Regions from separate parts of the Homo sapiens genome. Here regions 1, 3 and 4 are each linked to region 2. Evidence: promoter capture Hi-C in human tissues and cell types (Jung and others, 2019). All regions are on one chromosome and are shown on one strand. Each heading gives the region's core, a stretch centred on a gene start or on the middle of the fragment in contact. The rest is flanking DNA. Distances are from core to core; before and after follow the strand shown.

Region 1 (4,485 bases), core at 779-3,278, 840 kb before region 2:
TTATGACAATGGAACATCCTCAAAAACATTGTGGGTTTTCTAGGCTTCTCATTGCATTTAATGCCATTTGTCAAAAGCCACACCCATAATTTTTTGAGAGCTTTCTTTTTTAGACTTAACCACTGCTGCTCTGGGTATGTCAGACATGTTTTAAAGACTCCTAGGTTCCCTTTCTTCAGGGACAAGAACTATAAGGCAATACCAAGTGTTCATTCAAGCTTCTGCTTATGCCAAGTTTTCTATTGCTCCATTGGCCAAAGCAAATACATAGCTAAGCCCAGTGTTAGTATGGGCAGGCAGTGCAAGAGGGCATGGATTCAGGGAAATATGAAAAATTGAGGCTTTAATGCAATCCATCTATCATAAAAGGTAATTTAAAAAATTTTGGTGTGATTTCTTGGGTGTGTGTGCACATAAATATTAACTGTATATGATTCTGCATCTTGCTATTTTCACTTAGTAATATCTTTTCTTTGATAAATTTCTTTTAACTGCTACAAGAATTTCATAGTACAAATGTATAGTGCATTTTACTGAGCCATTTCTGTGATGAACGAACATTTAGGTTATTTCTAATTTTTTCACTATTACTTTATACAGTCTGAGATGTACTTTCCCCCCCTCATTTTATCATCTCTGATATTATTATGATACCTTACAAGTATTTGGAAGTTTTATTCTTAGTATGTAGAATAACAATGCATCTTGTAATCAGTGTTGCTTTAGGTTTGATAAAATGTGATACAAATGTTTATGAACATTCTGCTTGGACTGATTGCTGAATCAGTTTAACCATTTATACTCTCAGCACTGCTTTCCATCCTGCCAATAATTGGTTCATAGTTAGTTTTTCGTGATTTGCCAACATGATAGATGTGAAATGGTATCTCACTGCAATTTTAAATTTACTTTTCTGATTATTAGTTAGGTTAAACATTGCTTCATATTTCTTGGCCATTTAGGTTTTCTTTCTGTGAATTATCTGTTTAGATCTTTTCCACATTTTTAGGGTTGTCTTTTTCTTACTGATTTGTAGAAATTCTTTATATATTATAGACACTAATCTTTTGTTGGTGTGTTGCAAATATCTTCTTCCATTCTGAAGTTTAACTTCTTTGTTTGTAGTGTTCTTTATTATACAGATAATTTGAGTTTAATGGAGTTGAATTTTAAAAATTAATTTTTTAATGGTTTGAAATTTTTGTGTCTTGTCTAAAATATTCTTCACTACTGTTACTACTAGTAGTAGCAGCTACTATTTCTCCAACAGTTACTATGTGCCAGGCACTGTTCTAAGTGTATTAACTAATTCAATTATCATAACTCTTTTGGATAGTTTTTATTATTAACCTTACCCTACACCTAGAAAACTGGGTGAACCAGTTTGTGCTAGGTTAAATAATGCACCACCCCAAAGATAACCACATCATTATTCCTGGAACCTGTGGATATTACCTAAAGGATGGATTTTATATGGCAAGATATATAATTGAGGTGAAATTATCCTGAATTATTTGGGTGTGCCTCCAGTGTAATCATAAGTATCCTCATGAGAAGGAGGCAGAGGGAGGTACCACACAGTAGAAGAGGAGAAGGCAATGTGGCCACAGAGGCAGAGGTTGGCATGATGCAGCCACAAGCCAAGAAATACCAGTACCACCAGGAGCTGGAAGAGGCAAGGAACATGGAACATACTTTCACATTATTGTCTATGGTGTTTTTCCTCTAATGAATTGCCTGTCTATCCACTTTCCCGTTGGGTTCTCTTTTTTCCTGGGAGATCTTCATATAGACTGGATACCTAGTTATGTGTATGATACATACATATTTTCCAGTGTGTAACATGACTTTTTGTGTTGCTTATGTTGTTTTTTGCCAAAATTTTACATTTTGATTTAGTCAACTTTATTATTTTTTCTTTATATACATCTGTTTGTGATTATTATGTATGTTTCTAGTGACAGGGTCTCATTCTGTTACACAGGCTAGAGAGCAGTGGCCTGATCATGGCTCACTTGAATCCTAGTCTCAGGCGATCCCTCCATCTCAGCCTCTGGAGGAGGTAGGACTATAGGCACCCATCACCACAACCAGCTAATTTTTTTTTTTTTTTTGAGACAGAGTCTCGCTCTGTCACCCAGGCTGGAGTGCAGTGGCACTATCTTGGCTCACTGTAACCTCCGCCTCCTGGGTTCAAGCGATTCTCCTGTCTCAGTCTCCTGAGAAGCTGGGATTACAGGTGTGTGCCACCATGGCTGGCTAATTTTTGAATTTTTAGTAGAGGCAGTGTTTCACCATGTTGGTGGTCTCAAACTCCACCATGTCAGGCTGATCTCGAACTCCTAACCTCAGGTGATCCACCTGCCTTGGCCTCCCAAAGTGCTGGTGCGAGCCACCACGCCCTGCCTAATTTTTAAAGTTTTCTGTAGAGGTGGGGGGTCTCACTGTATTGCCCAGGCTGGTCTTGAACTCCTGGCCTCAAGAGATCCTCCTGCCACAGCCTCCCAAAGCACTGGGATTACAGGTATGAGCCACTACACTTGGCCTGTTTGTGATTTAAGAAGATTTTCTCAAACTTTATATTGTCTTCAAAGCTTTCACTTTTTGGAATATTTAGGTTCTTTCATCTATCTGGAATTTAATTTTGAGAATAGTGTGTAGGGGCATAATTTTATTCAAAAATAGAGAGTCAGTTGCCTCAATACCATTATTAACACATCCAGTTTTCTCCCACTGACTTGAAATGATGCTATCTACACATGAACCCATTTCTGAGCTCTCAATTACATTTCTTTGGTCCATCTCTCCTTACTCTAAAACCAAACAATATTAATACCTGTAGTTTCATAACATGTTTTGATACTTGGTAGGGCAAGTTCTCCTCTTTTCATTTCAAAACAGTTATTTACTACGTTCACATATTTACATTTTCGTGTGCATTTTAGAATCACCTTATGCAAGTCCTTGCAAATCTTGTTTTGGTATTGGGATTGTGTTTGCATTGAATGTTTAGATTATTGGAAGGGAGCTGAAAATGTTATTATAAAAAATCTTACTGTTCTCGAAAATGGTTTCTCTCTCCGGGTCATTTTCATTATTGTTCAGTTAAGTCTTACAGTTATACTATTTCTTGCACATTTCTTATCAGGTGTATGCCAAGGCACATTATGGTACTGATATCTTTCCTTTCCTACTATAAAACTGGTTAGTGCTAATATATAGGAGCAATTGATTTTTTGCTATATAGAAGTTTGACTTGGTTGTAGTTGTAGTCGAATTTATGATTTTTTTTTTAACTTTAACAGCTTCTAGATTTTAAATTATATGAAGGAACGTTCTCTCCCAATCATGATGTTGGATATTCACCTGTGTTTTTTTCTAGTACTTGTATGGTTTCAGTTTTTAACTTTTAGGCCTCTGATCTGTTTGGCATTTATTCCAGGGTTTGGGTTAAAGGATGGACCCAGTTTTATCTTCTTCTCCATGACTATCCTAGCGCACCAACTCCATTTTATCCCTAAAGCCTATCTTTCCCCACTGATTTGAGATACTGCCCTAATGTAAACTAAATGTTCTTATTTCTGAGTTTTCTCTTCTGTTCCATTAATCTGTCTAGTCATGCACAGTACTCTACTGTCTTAACCATAGAAGCCTTATAATGAGTTTTCATGCCTAGTAGGGCTGGGTGTGTGTGATTTATTTATTTTGGCATTTAGTGGGCCCTTTCATTCTGCAGACACATGTCTATCTTCTGTTATGGGAGGTGTTTATTTTTCTTCCTTCTTCTTTTCCTTTGCTAATTTTCTTGTGTAGTTTCTATCATTCTATTCTTTGGTGACCATTTCTGGAAGAGCTCTGGGCCTCTGATTCATTCTTTAGATGTGTTAATTCTGCAACTCAGCGCTTTTATTATCTTCTTAATATCAACAGTTCAATTTTTATTGAGACTGGTTCTTTTTTCATTGCCTGTTCTTTTTACTTAATGGATGTGGTATCCTCCCATATTTTTCTAAGTATATAAAATATTCTTATGGTAAAAGATTCTGTTCGAGTCACGCTATTGACCCTGTTTCCTTTGAGCTCTCCTGTTTGGTGAGTTTGTCTCTCCCTCATGGCGTAGACAGTCCTCAAATGTTTGGAGATCTGTCATTGTGCGCTTATTTTTAATGGAGAATCCTTTAGCGCCTGTCTGTTGCCTGTTATGATAATTGCCCTATTCAGTCACCTCTGACCCAAGCCTTCTCTAGCTCTGGGTTTCTACTGTGAGCATGAAACATCTTGTGTTTTACCATCCTTTTCTTTTCTCCTCTCCTTTCCCTCTTTCTTTTCTTTCTTTCTTTCTTATCCTGGCCAATGGCATTCCTTTGCCGCTTTTTTTTTTTTTTTTTTGTCTTTCAGGGACTTCTCATATTTTGTGGTCAGCCAGAGTGTCCCTTCTTGTTTTGAGCATGAGTATATAGTAATTATTAAAATTTTGCCCAGTAT
Region 2 (4,605 bases), core at 1,957-4,456:
TGACCTGTATGAGACCGACCCTATGGCTCACCAGACCTGTGTTATGGGCCTAAGCTACTCTCCAGTGCTCTTTCCAGCACAGTTCTGAGTAAAGAACTTAAAGTCCCACTCATCCCAAACCCCCTGAGTACGTGGTAAAATGGAGAAATGCGCCCAGACCCAGCTGAGGAGCCCACTGGTCAACTTTTCTCAGTGGCTACCACAGGACTCCATGGAAAACCCAAAGCCGCAGACTACAGAATCTCTGAGCACCAGGAGGGGCTGCCTCCAAGCTTCGGCTGGTCCTCAACCACACATGCGCCTCTTCCAGTCACTACCACCGAAGACACTACACCACGGGAAATTCCATCAAAGGCGAAGTGGACTTCAGTGCTTCAGGAGCATCTTCCTGGTAAGGGTAGAGGTTGGATGCCCTTCACCTCCCCAGCATGGAGTTCACTGTCCACACCTGCCTAGTGTTCAGCAAGGCCAGGGGCCCACAGGCACCTCATCCCTGTATGGTCCCCCACTTTCTGAGCTACGAATAACCCCTGCCTATAGCCCCACTCTAGAATAGCAAAAATAAAACTAAATAATCAACAAGGAGTAGTCCCCACTACCCACAGGCAGGCACCCTACTCAGGACAACCCCAGCACAAGCTGTCCATCCACCCACCATGAGGGAAGGGGTAACAGGCCCAACACCTTCTGTAGAATCCCAGTCACCCATGTCACCCTCCCTGCAAGCCCAGAAACACCAGTTCAACAAGTTTCCCTCGGGACTTGGAAAACCAGAGAATGAAGACGATGTGTTTAAAGCACTTATTTCAAGAGACTATACATACTGTTACAGTTCTTTAAATATTTGTGACTCTCTGCTAGGTGAGGCTGTTTTCCACAAGTGAGATGTCTGTGTCCCTCAAAAGGATGTCCAGGACCGGGCATGGTGGCTCACGCGTGTAATCCCAGCACTTTGGGAGGCGGAGGCGGGTGGATTGCTTGAGGCCAGGAGTTTGAGATCAGCCTGGCAAACATGGTGAAACCCCGACTCTACTAAAAATACAAAAATTAGCCAGGCGTGGTGGTGTGTGCCTGGGATCCCAGATACTCTGTGAGGCTGAGGTGGGAGGATTGCCTGAACCCAGGAAACAGAAGCTGCCATGAGCCGTTATGGTGCCACCGCGCTCCAGACCTGGCAACAGAGCAAGACCCTGTCTCAAAAAAAAAAAAAGTCCAGGATCAAAGGACTATGGTCTGGGCCTGCAGCCCTTCATATGCCCATTCAATAATTCCACAAATACTCAATAAGCACCTACTATGGGCCATGTACTGGAATAGTAAAACTCTGTCAGTAAAGATGGGTGGATTCTGACACAAGAGTGCATTTACCCCCACAGACCCTTCTCAAGCACCTACTGTGTGCCAGGCAGCACCACCCCAGGCACTGAAGACAAAGTAGCACAGGGCCTCAGTGCCTCAGTCTGACCCTTAGGAGCTGAGTTGGTCCAGAGCTGGGGTGGGCAGAATGAAGGCTGGCCCTCGGTAGTCTGCTCTGGCCTTCTCCTGCCTCAGTGGAGAAGTTTAGGCAACAGAGGAGCCCTTTCCCCTATCTCCCCAGGAGAGGGGAGGCTAGTCAAGGGGACAGGGACCCCGGGCGGAACGGGCTCTAAACCAGGGTCTGCTCCTGCATTCAAGATCTCCACATGCAAACTTACTGCTCCAGCTTGACAATGTCCATTTGTAAACTTACAAGATTTTTCATAAATTAAGCTGAAAGTTACTCAATACCTGGTATACAAATGCTTGTCAATAATAGTGAAAGAATGTTTAAAAACAGGAGCTACATTTATTGAACCCCTTCCACAACGCCACGTGTAGCAAAATGGTCTGCGGGGGATGGGCTGGATTCACCCAAAAAGCCCCAAGGGTGTCAGGGTTTCTACTTAGCCCTTCTCCACACCGGCACTGTTCTAAAGGTTTCATGCTAATTAATTCATTTTATTATTCCCCAAAACTCATCGAAGGAGAGGTACAATTGCTCCCGTCCTATAGATGAGAAAACGAAGGTATGGGGACTTCCCAGCTGTGTGACCTTGTACAAACCACTAAGACTGCGGGCCTCTAATCCAAAGTCAGGCTCCGAAACAGTTTCCAGAATGCACCGCCGCATTTGGCGAATGAATGAACGACCGAACCAGTAATCACTCCTAAGACCAAGAAGGCCACATCCTTCCCCGTGGGGCCTCCTTTTCCGAGGCCAAACCTTCAGCCCAGGCCCGAGCTCCGGCCTCTACCGCCTAAGTCGACTCTCGGCCGGCGCGTTCCGCTCTAGAAGGCTCTGGCACAGGCGGGCGGTGCCGGGCGCCAGCTTCTGCGGGCGTGGGCCGGCCAGGGCGCGTGGGCCTGGGGACTCGGGGCCACGGTCGTCACGTGAGCTCATCCCCGAGGCGGCAGCGTGGCCGGCACCCGCCCGCTGGCCTGGTCCGGCGAGCGTGGGCGGCGAACGGGTCCCCGCCGGATGCACGCTGGTGGGATCCAGGGCCAGAGGGCGCCGCCGGGGAAGGTCACCTAGACGCGCGGCCCGCCGGGCCTCCACGCGGCCGCCCTTGCACTTCCGCCCGCAAGCCCGGGCCGCCTCTCGCCGCCAGCCGCAGGCGTCTCTGGACCCTCGGCCTCGCGCTCCCCAGCCCAGACCTGTTCGGCACCCGCCTGTGCGGCCTTCTCTGCCCGCCCGCTCACCAGCCAGGCCCGCGCCGGCCGCTCGCGATCCCTCCCCGCGGCCGGGCTGCCGGGGCCCCTCGCCCGCTCCTCCCTCAGCGCCTCCCTCTCAGCTCCCCAGGGGCCTGGCCCCCGCCGTCCAGGGCGCAAGGAAGCCGGGGTCCTTTTCCGCTGCGCCTACCTCAGAGGATGTGGCGGCGGGCTCGGAGGCGGCTACGGCGGGGGCTGCGACGCGGAGGCAGGGAGCCGAGCCAGGGAGCGGAGCCGAGCGAGCGGCTGGGCCAAGGGCGGGGCGGCGCGGACGGCGGCGGCGCGGACCCGCCTCCCCTCCTGCGCGCCCGGCCCGGCGCGCTCCGCCCCCAGGCCCCGCCCGGGACAGCGTCCAGGCCGGGCCAGGGTCCCCATCCCGCTAGCGAGCCGCGTTCTTACCCTTCCGGGCCCCGCTGCCCCGGCAGCAGACACAGGAGCCTGCGGGCGTGTTGCGGGCGCGCGGGAGGACCTGCGTGAGTCGGGGCACGGGGAGGCGCCGGACTGACGTGTGCACCGTGTGTGCGTGCGCAGGGACACGCGGGTTCTTGCTGGAAACCTCGGCCCCAGTGGCAGCGCTCGGGAAGGGGGAGGAGGCCTTCCGATTCTCTGAGCTGTGGCCCGGAGGTCCCTGCGCTAATGGAAGACGCGCGGGGCTCCTGGGCCTCCTGCTTGGCCTCCGCGCTGCTAGATCCCCCGGGAGTTGATGTGGCCGGCGCTGGACCCAAGCCTCGCCTGGGTGGACAAAGTGGCCCCCGGCCCCCCATCAAAGCCCGCGTGGGCCCCATCCCCCGAGGGCAGTCCCAGGCCCAGCGCGGACACTGGGCGCCTGGGGCGGCGCAGATACAGAGTAGAGGCGGCGACTGTTGCTCCCGAGCTCCGCGCTCCGGATACAATGTGTCTGGCGCCTCCGACCCGCCCGCGCGGCGTCTAGACAATCTCAGAGAAAACCCCTGTGCGCCGATTTTGCACTACAGATTAGCGATTTTCTCCTGTAGCAAAGCTACTAGCAGCCAATTTCCATGCATTTGAGAGGCAAAAAGACAAAATAAAACAAAACGTGGATTGGGTTTTGCGAGGTCCCTGCTGGGTCTCTCGGCGCGAGGAGATCACGCCGGTTATGGCCGGCCGGCCGACTGAGGGCACCCCGGGTAACCCCCGCGACCAGCCGGGGCGTGTCCTGCGGGACCCAGTTAGTGTGTGTTGAGTGAACGGTCACCTCGCTGCTAGGCCTAAGCGAGTGGTCTCGTTCACCACTGAGTGTCCCCTGTGTTACGCGCGAGGCCCACTCGAAGCAGGTTTCGAGAATTAATTCGTAGATGGACGAAGATTCTACACATCCTTCGCCTTTGATCAACAAACGTCCTGGAAGGCTTGAGGCGTCTAGGGCCCTGTGGAGGAGGTGCCGGGTTACAGAATCAGGACACTCCTCACAGCCAGCTGCGACACTATCTAAAGCAGTGGGCAACTGGGGCTACGGAGGAGGCAATCAGGACTGGCTGCTGGGAAAAGGCGGCAGATTAAAAGTGGCGACTGGAGTTGGAAAAGGTGCTCCAGTGGGATAGGGTGCTGAGGAAGAGGGCAGCTGATACAGAGTGGGAGTGGGGTGCAGACAGGTTACCTAGGCCCTGTGTAGGGGCTGGGGGAGGGGTGACTGGGAATGTAAGGAAGAGCCCCCTTCAAGATCCTGAGGAGTGTAGGACGGATTCTATGACCCTCCCAGGCGCACGAGTTGCCTGGGAACTCTGGGCTTCCCAGCCTGGTGGTCCCCACCCCGCACACTGAGACTGGTGGGCAGGGGGAGGACAAGAACTCAGGGAGGCCGGGCGGGACAAGGCGGGGCTCCAGGAACCCCACAGGGCTAGGAACAGATGCCGGTGC
Region 3 (4,947 bases), core at 851-3,350, 590 kb after region 2:
GAGGTTGGGGGATATCTGTGACCTCTGAAGTCCATCTCCTGTGGGGAGGGGCTGTGGTCAGAGGGCAAGGGAAAGCTTTCCAGTGTTACCGGATGGAAGGTCTTGACTGTGAGTTGTCCAGGTTCTTACGCACTGAACGAAGAATTGAACAAAACACACAAAGAAACAAAAGAACAAAGCAACGAAAGAAGCAATGAAGGTGATTTACTGAAGTGGAAGTACACTCCACAGAGTGGGAGCAGGCTCGAGCAAGCAGCTCCAGAGCCCCATTGCAATGTTCTTTAGGGTTCTTATTAAACTAAAAGAATTTGGTGGCTGGTGGATTAGAGCTCACGCCTGTAATCCCAGCACTTTGGGAGACCCAGGCGGGTGGATCACTTGAGGCCAGGAGTTCGAGACCAGCCTGGCCAACATGGTAAAACCCAGTCTCTACTAAAAAAAAAAAAAAGAGAGAGAGAAAGAAAGAAAGAAAAAATTAGTTGAGCATGGTGGTGTGCCTGTGGTCCCAGTTACTCTGGAGGCTGAGATGGGAGGATTGCTTGAACCCAGGAGGCAGAGTTTGCAGTGAGTGGAGATCAAGCCACTGCAATCCAGCCTGGGTGATAGGACAAGATTCTGTCTCAAAAACAAAAAAAGAATTTGGTAACACTCCTAGGTACCCTTTAAAGGCCTCCAGTTGGTTATACCCTATGACAGATTGGCCAGCAACTAATCAGAGGCTGAAGTGGATACTTGGCCCGTGGTCAATCAGAGGCTGAAGTGGAAATTTCTGTCTTGTTATCACAGGAGTGAGGATGTGGCCTGTATGCTGCCTAATCTTGCCTAGAAGTGGCTGCACCTGCTGTTCTTTTGCTTATGCCTTGATCCTTGGTGACCCTAATTCCCTATTCTCCTATCTCACCAGGGCCCTTTAACTTGAGGCCAGCTGGGTGAGGTGGGGCTAGCTGGCAGATGGGGCTGGGTGAGCCTCCATACACAACTTGGGCAGAGGAGAGAAGGAAGAAGCTTTATCCACTCAGCTTGTCACCTTTGCACCATCAGAACACCATTGTGGCGGCTGACTCATCTGTCACCAGGTGAGTGTGCCATTAGGAGCACAGGATTAGTCATGGGCGTGGTCATGGGGTGAGATGCCAGGTCGGGCTGGGATAGTGACACGGTGAAGCATGGAGCAGGGCCTAGAGGCACTGGAAGAGAAGAGGAGGCATCCCTCCTCAGGCTTGGAAGGGGGCCTAGGCCTCCCTGATAGGGATGGAGGCCTCTGTCTTTGGGATAATGCTCAAGTGGGTTGCCTCGGGTCTAGAGGTTTGTATTTAGTGGGTGGTCCCCCTTATTCTTCCCTCCATTCTCAAACTCCTGACTTTAGGTGATCCGCCCACCTCAGCCTCCCAAAGTGCTGGGATTACAGGCATGAGCCACTGCTCCCGGCCACTTCCCTCCATTCTCAATGAACATTAAGCAACATGTGGCCATTCAAGTCTAGAGAATTTATCCATGAATCCACCACGAAAGAGGAAGCTGCTAGAAATGGAATTTTGTTGTCCTTGGGGTAATGGAAAATTATTGACCTGCATTCTGGCCCTTAGTTTCCTCATTTGTTAATAAGGATGAGAGCTCCTGCTGGGCCCACCATGCAGGGTGGCTGAGAGGCTCAAAGAGGACATGGGTATGAAGTGGACAAAATGAGGAGCCACAAAAGGTGTTAGAGGAGGGCAGGACACAGTGGTACAGGAGAGCACTCACAGACTTGCTGACTGACCAGAGGCAAGGAGGCCAGAGGGATTTGTTTACCAACTCTCACTTCCCGGATTCTGAGCCGGTAAACCCTGTTTGTTTACAAGTTTTCACGGGCCTCCCTAAGCCCAACGGTGGTCTGGGGTCAGTTCCACTCTAGGGACTGGCCCGGTGCAGCCCCTAGATGGGGGCTGGTTGCAAACAGCTGATGGTCAGAGAAGCCGCTTCAGTCACATATCTGACAGTCAGCTGCCTGGGCCAAAAAACCACACAGCTCCCCAGCCTTGTGGGTTACTCAGGCCCCTTGTCAGCTCTGTGATCATCCTTCACACCTGAAAGCTTGTAACCCGAGAGGCTAGAGGTAGTTGAATAGGACATCCCTCCTGTGCCCTCACCTCACCCCTTTTGCAAAAAAGGAACATTCCATTGCTAGGGATTGAATGTTGTGATTAACATGAAACTCAGAAGAACAGCCAAGGGTTTGTAGAAGCCAAGGAGGAAAAGTGACTCAGCAAAATAAACTTTCACCTGTGGGTACTCTGAACTGCTATTTTGGGACTCTGGGAGCCTGCCTGGTTCTAGTGCCTGTTGCTTGGTATCAAAGCATTGCTCCCTAAATGCCAGCTGGAATATTCATGCCCATTCCTTACTGAAGTAGCATCCTAGGAGGCTTGGGAGGGAGGTCTGATGGATGGGCCTTATCTCTGCCACATCCAGGTAAGAGTCACAAGTGAAGCCTGGGCAACCTGGCAAAACCCCATCTCCACAAAAAGATACAAAATTAGCTGGGTGTGGTGGTGGGCATCTGTAGTCCCAGCTACTCAGGAAGCTGAGGTGGGAGGATAGTCTGAGTCCAGGAGGCTGCAGTGAGCTGTGATCATACCACTGTACCCCAGCCTGGGTGGCAGAGTGAGACCCTGTCCCAAAAAAAAAGAGTCTCAAGTGAGCCAATGTCACAGGAGAAGTAGACATGCCCCCGTAGAGGCATCGGGGATCAGAGGGGACTCTCAAGAAGAGAGTAAATCTTAGGGATTCCTCTCCCCTCCAGGAATACTTCCATCCAGTCAAGAAAGGGCATGGGATTGGCACTAACTTGCCCCGTCAATTTTAACTCCTTCATGGCCCTCATCTGAAAAGCCTCATGTGGTTTGTAGGACCTCTGAGTTTGGGGAGAGTGTGAGAGCTCATTTCATCCAATCACTATCCCATGGAGTTCCCCTCTCTAGGAGAGACTGTTTGAATTCCAACAACAGCCCATCATTTGAAAGGCAACCCACAGCTGTGTTAAAAAGGTCTCTCTTAAATTCAATTGTAATGTCTCTTTGACACCTGACATTTCTATTCACAGGTCCTCTTGAGTCCTGGAGTCATAGATGAAGTCCAATTCACTTTCACTGGGCAGTCTTTGGACTATTTCATGACAGTTAAGCTACTCTGCCCACTTGATTTTTCAAGTTCAGTACTTTCCTAGGGGATTAAAACACAGGGTATTCTCCCTTCTTCATCCATTACACTTCTGCTTAATGGATGAAACCACCATACTGCTCCACTGTTCAGGCAAAGACAGTCCCAGGTCAGAGGTTTTTTTGTTTTGCTTTATGTTTTTTTGAGACAGGGTCTTGCTTTGTTGCCCAGGCTGGAGTGAACTGGCATGACCATGGCTCACTGCAGCCTCTACCTCTCAGGCTCAAGTAATCCTCCTGCCTCAGCCTTCTCAGTAGCTGGGACCACAGGTATGCATCACTATGCCCAGCTTTTTTTTTTTTTTTTGGTAGAGATGAAGTCTTGCTATGTTGCCCAGGCTGGTCTTGAACTTCTGGCTTCAAGTGCTCCCCCAAATTTGGCCTCCCAAAGTGCTGGGGTTACATGTGTGAGCCACTGCACCCAGCCTTCTTCTTTTTCTTTCTTTTTTTTTTTTTTAAGACGGAGTCTTGCTCTGTCACCCAGGCTGGAGAGCAATGGCGTGATCTCAGCTCACTGCAACTTCCGCTTCCCAGGTTCAAGCCATTCTCCTGCCTCAGCCTCCCAAGTAGCTGGGACTACAGGCATGTGACACCATGCCCAGCTAATTTTTGTATTTTAGTAGAGACGGGGTCTCACCATGTTGGCCAGGCTGGTGTTGAACTCCTCACCTCAAGTGATCCACCCGCCTCAGCCTCCCAGAGTGCTGGGATTACAGGTGTGAGCCACTGTGCCTGGCCGCCTTCTTTTTTTTTTTTTTTTTTTTTTTTTTTTGAGACTGATCTCACTCTGTTGTCCAGGCTGGAGTGCAGTGGTGCAATCATAACTCACCACAGCCTTGACCTCATGGACTCGAGCGATCCTGCTGCCTCAGCCTCGCAAAGTGCTGGGAATACAGGCATGAACCACTGCACCTGGCGGAGGTCAGAGTGTCAGAGAAGTGTCAGAGAGGGGAGGGGTGCTGTCTCGGCTCCCCGCTCCTAGCTCTCTACAGTGAGTCCCCATCTCCACCCCCAGGGCCCAGCCAGGCTTTTTGTGCGTAGGCAGCAGTGCCTGCTGTTTCAACAGCTTCATCTTGTGTTTAATCTTCCCCATCATCAGTACCACACATTTTGGTACACATGCTCAACAGTCATTTTGGCATTTTGAGGACACATGTCTGTCCAGATGGTCTCAACTTCAAATAGTCTATCCTGATCTGATGGCCCCATAAGCAGACTATCCTGGGGGATCACTGGCTTCTACCTTGGCTTGGAAAACATGGCCATATGTCATAAAATTGTTGGTGTTGGAATTGGTGTTAGATAGTTCAGGCCTCATGCTCTGTGGTCTTACCCTCCACTCTCGCCTCCTTCTAGGACACTCTCCACGTGACACCTCTTCAGGCACTGAGCTCTACCAGCTCCCAAGTCATTGTGTGCTCTTTCCTGCCTCCACACCTTTGTCTTTGCTGGTCTCTCTGCTTGGAATATCCCCTCTTGCCCCTTCTCCACTAAACCAGTTTGTACTCCGAGATTCAGCTCTGGTGCCCCCTTTCTATAAACCTCCTCCATAATGTGTGGAAGCCTTCTCCTTTTGCCTTCCATTCTGTCTTGGGCAGATCTCTGCACATTTTCTTTATGCCATGCCAGCCACCAGCAGGCAGGTGTTCAGGAAGTGCCTGCTGAGTGGCTGACTAAAAGGCAGGCAGACAGAAAGTGAGACCAAGCACCCAAGCCAGAATCTAACACTTCAGCACAATTGGTTAAGTCC
Region 4 (4,857 bases), core at 2,267-4,766, 580 kb before region 2:
AAAAGGAGAAGCAGGGAGGCAGCCTAGGTCTGAGCAAGAGAGCCGGGCCTGGACTGGGGGGCACTGAGGAAGAGCGGAGGGCTTGGTGAGACAGTGGAGGGTAGTGTGAGTGAAGGAGGCGGGGTAAGAAGGACTGTGTAGGTTTGCAGCTGAACAATGAGGAGGATGCTGTTTACCGTTTACTAAAAGGGGGAAAACGTGTCAAGACCAGGTTTGGAAGGAAAAAAAAAAATCAAAGAATTTGTTCTAACTACTTTAAGAATGGGATGGCTATTACGTGTCTAAGTGGGGAAAATCAAGGAGGGAGGTGTCCCTGGAGATGTAGAAATGGAAGATTTTAAAGTCATGGGACTAGAAGACATCACCTAGGGAATGAGAGTAAATAGAAAACAGTGTCATCCTACACAAATTACTCTTAGACAATTATCGAGCATGGTAATTTGTGAAATTTAACAATTCTATCTCTACATTAGGAAAGGTGTGTTTGACTTGAAAATATGTGTTTAATTGGGTCATTCAGACCACTTCAAAACTCTTGCCACGTTTATTTCATTTTTCCTTTATGGCTGCAAGTTGTAATGTCTTAGAAACAACACCCAAGCCCCTCTGGGCTGAAGTGATTGTTCTGATGAATGAGGCTTTCTGTCTTCTGAGAGAATGAGGCTAAATGAACAAGAAACAGGTCAGTGCTGTGCAGGCTCTGAACGGCCGAGCTCTAGTTTTGAAGTTTCATTTGTACAGTTGCTGCCTGGGGGAAATGGAAAGAAAAAGAAAAGATCCCCTGGTATTTCTGTCACAACAGGTTGGAGCTGGCCCGCTGGCTTTGTTCTTGGACTGCACGAATGAATGGGCGGCTTGTTTCCTGGCCCCTTTTGACTGCTCTGCACTGCTCACCTGGATGAGGCGCAGTCCTGAACTGGGGTCTTGGGACATTTCCAGCATTCGTTGACATCAGCAGAAACTTCAGTCCTAAATGCATCCAGGCGGTACCTCGTGCTGTCCTGTCTGCCAGCTAGGAGCTGGAGAAGGCCCATCCTCCCTCTGCCTTGCTCTCTTGGGTCCTTCCTGCCCTCCTTCCAAGAGCCTTTCACAGCACTCTCTGTGGAAGAGGCCCTCAGCCTCCCTCCTGGAACCTCAGCGGGCAGGGCTGCCCAATTCTGCTGCTATGTGAGGAGTTAGCCCCTGCTACAGGAGCGACAGAGTGCATGGGGTGACAGTAGTAAAGGCACAAAGGTGGCTGTGGTCATCGAGGGGTGGTGGGGATGATGGCGGTGAGGCGGTGGTGATGGCTAACGGTGGTGGAGGCAATGGTAGTGGTGACGGCAGGGATGGTGGTGGTTGATGGCAGTAAGGATGGCGATCGGGGTGGTGACGATAGACGTAGTTAGAAACAGCTCATTTTCTTCCCCTCTGAGAATGAGTACAGACAAATGACTCATGACTGAGGCCACGGGACTGCTCTCTGCACAGAGCAGGAAGAAGACATACATAACTGAGTATAACTTTGTCACAACGGAGTACTCGGTGGTGCACAAGACTGGGTGTGCACGTGCCAGGACAAGTCCCTCGGTGCACACAGCGCACGTGAGCTGGAGCCCAGCATGGAGCTGAGGAACAGCGCTGGGGTCCCGGCGGTTCACCAGCTTACCACCAGGTGTCGCTGTGTGCACGAGGGCAAAGGGCACCCGCAGACCAGCAGGGCCGAGCCGGGCTCTGCAGAATCGGACTGGGCTCCCTGTGGGGAGACCACATTCTGTCTGACGCCAGCAGAAGAAGTGCCTGTCCCCAAGATTTCAGGGGACACCTCAGACCCGAGTCATGCAGCAGCTCCGAGGCAGGTGGTGCCCCTGAACTTTCTAGCCGTTCAAAGTCAGTGCACATCCAAGCGTTTGCTGAGTGATTCTGCTGCGCGGGTAACCACCCAGACCCGTGAACAGTGCAGGAGGCCAGTTCGGAAGTTATCATGAGATGATCACCCAGTGTGATGGAAGCATCTCCTGGGACCGGCTGACAATTTGGGAAGTTTACAGAGCACTTGAGAGAGACACAACCCGAGGGGACTGTTTTGGAGATGGGAGATAAAAGGAGATGATATTTGTATTCAATACCTTAGAGACAGGAAATGACATGTTTTGTGAGCTTTGCATTTCCGAGCAGTCTCTCAGATGATGGTCTTTAGAATGTCCAGGGGCACCTGGGTTCTCTACGACTTCCCTGGTTGTGCTGTCCCACGGCGTCTCCAGGTTGGTGACACTCAAGCACTACAGGAATACGTGATGGTGTCCTCTGAGAGGCACTATGGCACATCTCAGGCCAAGGGAAGGCTGGTCTGGACAGGGAAGCTGGCAGTGACCATGTGGTCACTAGGCAGCATTCCCATAGCTGGGCTCACTTCTAAATACCACGTAAAGGAGAGAGTACTGGCTTTGGAGTCTAACGATCTTGAGATCTTGAGTCTAATTCTCCCATCTGGAAAATGGGAGAATAAGCCTTTCCCTGAAGCCCATAGAGAGAAGCACATGCCATAGTGAAATGTAAGGCACTTAGCATGGTTCCTGGTGCACAGTGGGTGCAGAAAATGCTAGGCCTTTCCTCCCTTCCCATCAAATAGATAACCTAATCAAAAGAAAATCTGTAAAAACAAAACAAAAGATATAGCAACATTTCTTATGCGCATCAGACTGGGTCTAACTATTAGACTGTGGATTAATCTATTTCAAGTGAGTATTGATAGAAAAGATCTACGGGCTCACATGTATTGCACATTTATTATGTTCCAGACACCATAAGGACTTGATGTAGATTTTGTTACAGATTTTTGACAACACTTTATTATAAAGTTTTTAGTTTGTAAATCTTTTTAACATTAAGATTTCTTCAAAGTGACCTAAAAAAAAAGGTACCTTAGCTAAGTCCGAGGTTTGTCTTAAGAGCTGCTCTCAAGCTGTTTGAATGGCCTGTCCCAGCCTGGTCTTGTCTCCCAGCAGGAGACCCAGAGCAAGTCAGCTAGAGGCTGGCAGAGATAATGCCATCCCCAGGTGGCAAAGCTGTTAACCGCGCATCGCCAAACCCTCCAGGCCTGAGGTTTAACAATGCCCCACAGCAGGAGTTGTGCTGAGATATTAAGAAAGAGACAAAAGGGAAAGCTATGTCGAATGTGAGTTCAAATTGTTCAGCAGAAAACCTGGAAAAGTAATTAGCAGACTCTTGTGAGGAAAGAATTAATGCCCAACTGACCTCCCAAGACTCTGTAATATCTGAATTTCCACTGTTGGATATTCATTTCTTTGAATAGCCCTTCTGGGTTCCTCTCTGAAACTCTACATTTGAACTTTAAAGTTAAAGCATTAATTAATTAATTCACTCATTGAATAATTCTGTGTTCCTACTGTGGGTGAGATGCTAGGTCCTGGGACACAGCAGAGAATAAGGGAGATATGGATCCTGCCCTCAAAGCTTATGATCCAGTTTCTGGCTGTCAAGTGTAGCCGTGTGGTTTGTCCACTGCACGATAAGCCAAGTGGCGGAAGAAATCCAGAAGCTGGCTGGGTCCAAAGGGAGAACAGGGACATAGGATAAAGAGCCTGCATTTGAAGTTAGGGTGAGGAGAAGGGAAGCAGGAATGACGTGGGGGGCTCTAGTCTTCCTGTCTAAGTGCTGGGGACCCCCCCTGAGCAAGACCCTTCTCTCTTGGCCTTGGTCTTCTCTTCTTCCACATATGGGGAGCTGGAAGTGGACCAGTCTTGACTTCCTCTGTAGCTTTCACCTTCCTCATTGCCCCAACATCCCTGAGAGTGTGCCTTTGATCTCAAAAGAAGTCATCTTTCCCAGTTAGGAATTTTTAAAGCACAGAGTGTGCTAGCAGAAGACAGAGTGTTGTCCTTCAAGCCTGACCAAAGGAAAGTCTTTGCCATGAAGGGAGGACACAGGGAGCAAAGGATAGCCGGGAGTCTGGGGAGGTGAGAGGGGGAGACCTGCCTCCGTGGCTCTCCTGGGCTGTGCTGACCCGCAGGACCAGTGGCTTGGGTCTCCTGCATAATGAGCCCATGTCACTTCATGGGGGTTCTGGGCAGATGAATAGCGCTGCCCTGCCCCCTCCGCACTCCCTAATTGGAGAATGTCATGAAGTTGGTCTCCAGACAGAGATCATTAGGAAGAGACTAACAATTCTGATCCCTCATAACGGAGCTCTCATGGCCAATTAGCAGCAGAGGAAACTGAACTGTACCGTGGGTTGGGGAATGATCAATGCCGGCATTGTGCATTCTGGCAGGGTGGATCACTGGGTGGCTGGGGAGTGGAGGCAAAAGTAGTAGAAGCGGTGGCAATGGGGGCTATGGAGGAGCAATCTCTGGCTGGAGGCACAAGCCTCAGTCCTGTTATTTCCCAGGGAGACAGTCAGCCAGTTCTGCTTTAATAATGCACTGATAGAAGCTCCAGTTCCCTTCTTTAGTTTAGCAAACACCACTGCTACTGCAATCCAGAACCCAAACCAGGCTAAAATGTTTCCTTTTTCCGAAAGTCAGCACAAGTTCTGGGAGGAGTAAGCTGAGATTTCAGGTTCTAAAACAACCTAAATCTCAGCATGTCTTATGTTCTCAGTGTTCCGTCTCTCAAATGCCCAACGGCCCAGAGGAATTTTGGTTTATCAAACCTTGAAATACCCCAACATTCCTCACAGTACTCTTCCATCCTATGAACTAGCTCACACTGCCCCCCAAGACTACCCCAGCAATGTCACCACTGGAGAACACACAGGCTCTGGAGTCAGGCAGCCCTGGGTTACAATCTCACTTCAGCTGTGTGACCTTGGACCAGCCACATAACCTCTCTGGGCCTCAGTTTCCACACCTATAG

What was found. Contacts are between HindIII fragments. The study calls those that stand out against the background at their distance.
Region 1: a fragment that was not itself captured here is called in contact with the fragment with the promoter of VDAC1 in region 2 in 1 of the 25 tissues and cell types used here (dorsolateral prefrontal cortex).
Region 3: a contact is called between a fragment that was not itself captured here and the fragment with the promoter of VDAC1 in region 2, in 1 of the 25 tissues and cell types used here (thymus).
Region 4: a contact is called between a fragment that was not itself captured here and the fragment with the promoter of VDAC1 in region 2, in 1 of the 25 tissues and cell types used here (aorta).

The regions. Positions count from the first base shown.
Region 1 is chr5:133,160,144-133,164,628 of GRCh38, forward strand. No RefSeq gene overlaps it. Among named protein-coding and RNA genes, the nearest start is that of CTB-49A3.2, 46 kb to the right of the region's middle. The HindIII fragment of the contact is 5,969 bases long and covers 1-4,485 here.
Region 2 is chr5:134,001,769-134,006,373 of GRCh38, forward strand. VDAC1 (voltage dependent anion channel 1) reads right to left here and starts at 3,207. Exons shown (of 9, transcript NM_003374.3): 1 at 3,127-3,207. RefSeq lists enhancers at 1,931-1,980, 1,991-2,040, 3,691-3,810, 3,881-3,940, 3,981-4,050 and silencers at 2,271-3,310, 3,371-3,430, 3,471-3,520. The HindIII fragment of the contact is 12,628 bases long and covers 1-4,605 here.
Region 3 is chr5:134,590,394-134,595,340 of GRCh38, forward strand. No RefSeq gene overlaps it. Among named protein-coding and RNA genes, the nearest start is that of SAR1B, 40 kb to the right of the region's middle. RefSeq lists enhancers at 1,146-1,205, 2,026-2,619, 4,086-4,225, 4,701-4,770. The HindIII fragment of the contact is 7,095 bases long and covers 1-4,947 here.
Region 4 is chr5:133,422,339-133,427,195 of GRCh38, forward strand. The region is part of intron 3 of FSTL4 (follistatin like 4); the gene reads right to left. Among named protein-coding and RNA genes, the nearest start is that of MIR1289-2, 2.9 kb to the right of the region's middle. RefSeq lists enhancers at 1,379-1,428, 1,519-1,813. The HindIII fragment of the contact is 7,315 bases long and covers 1-4,857 here.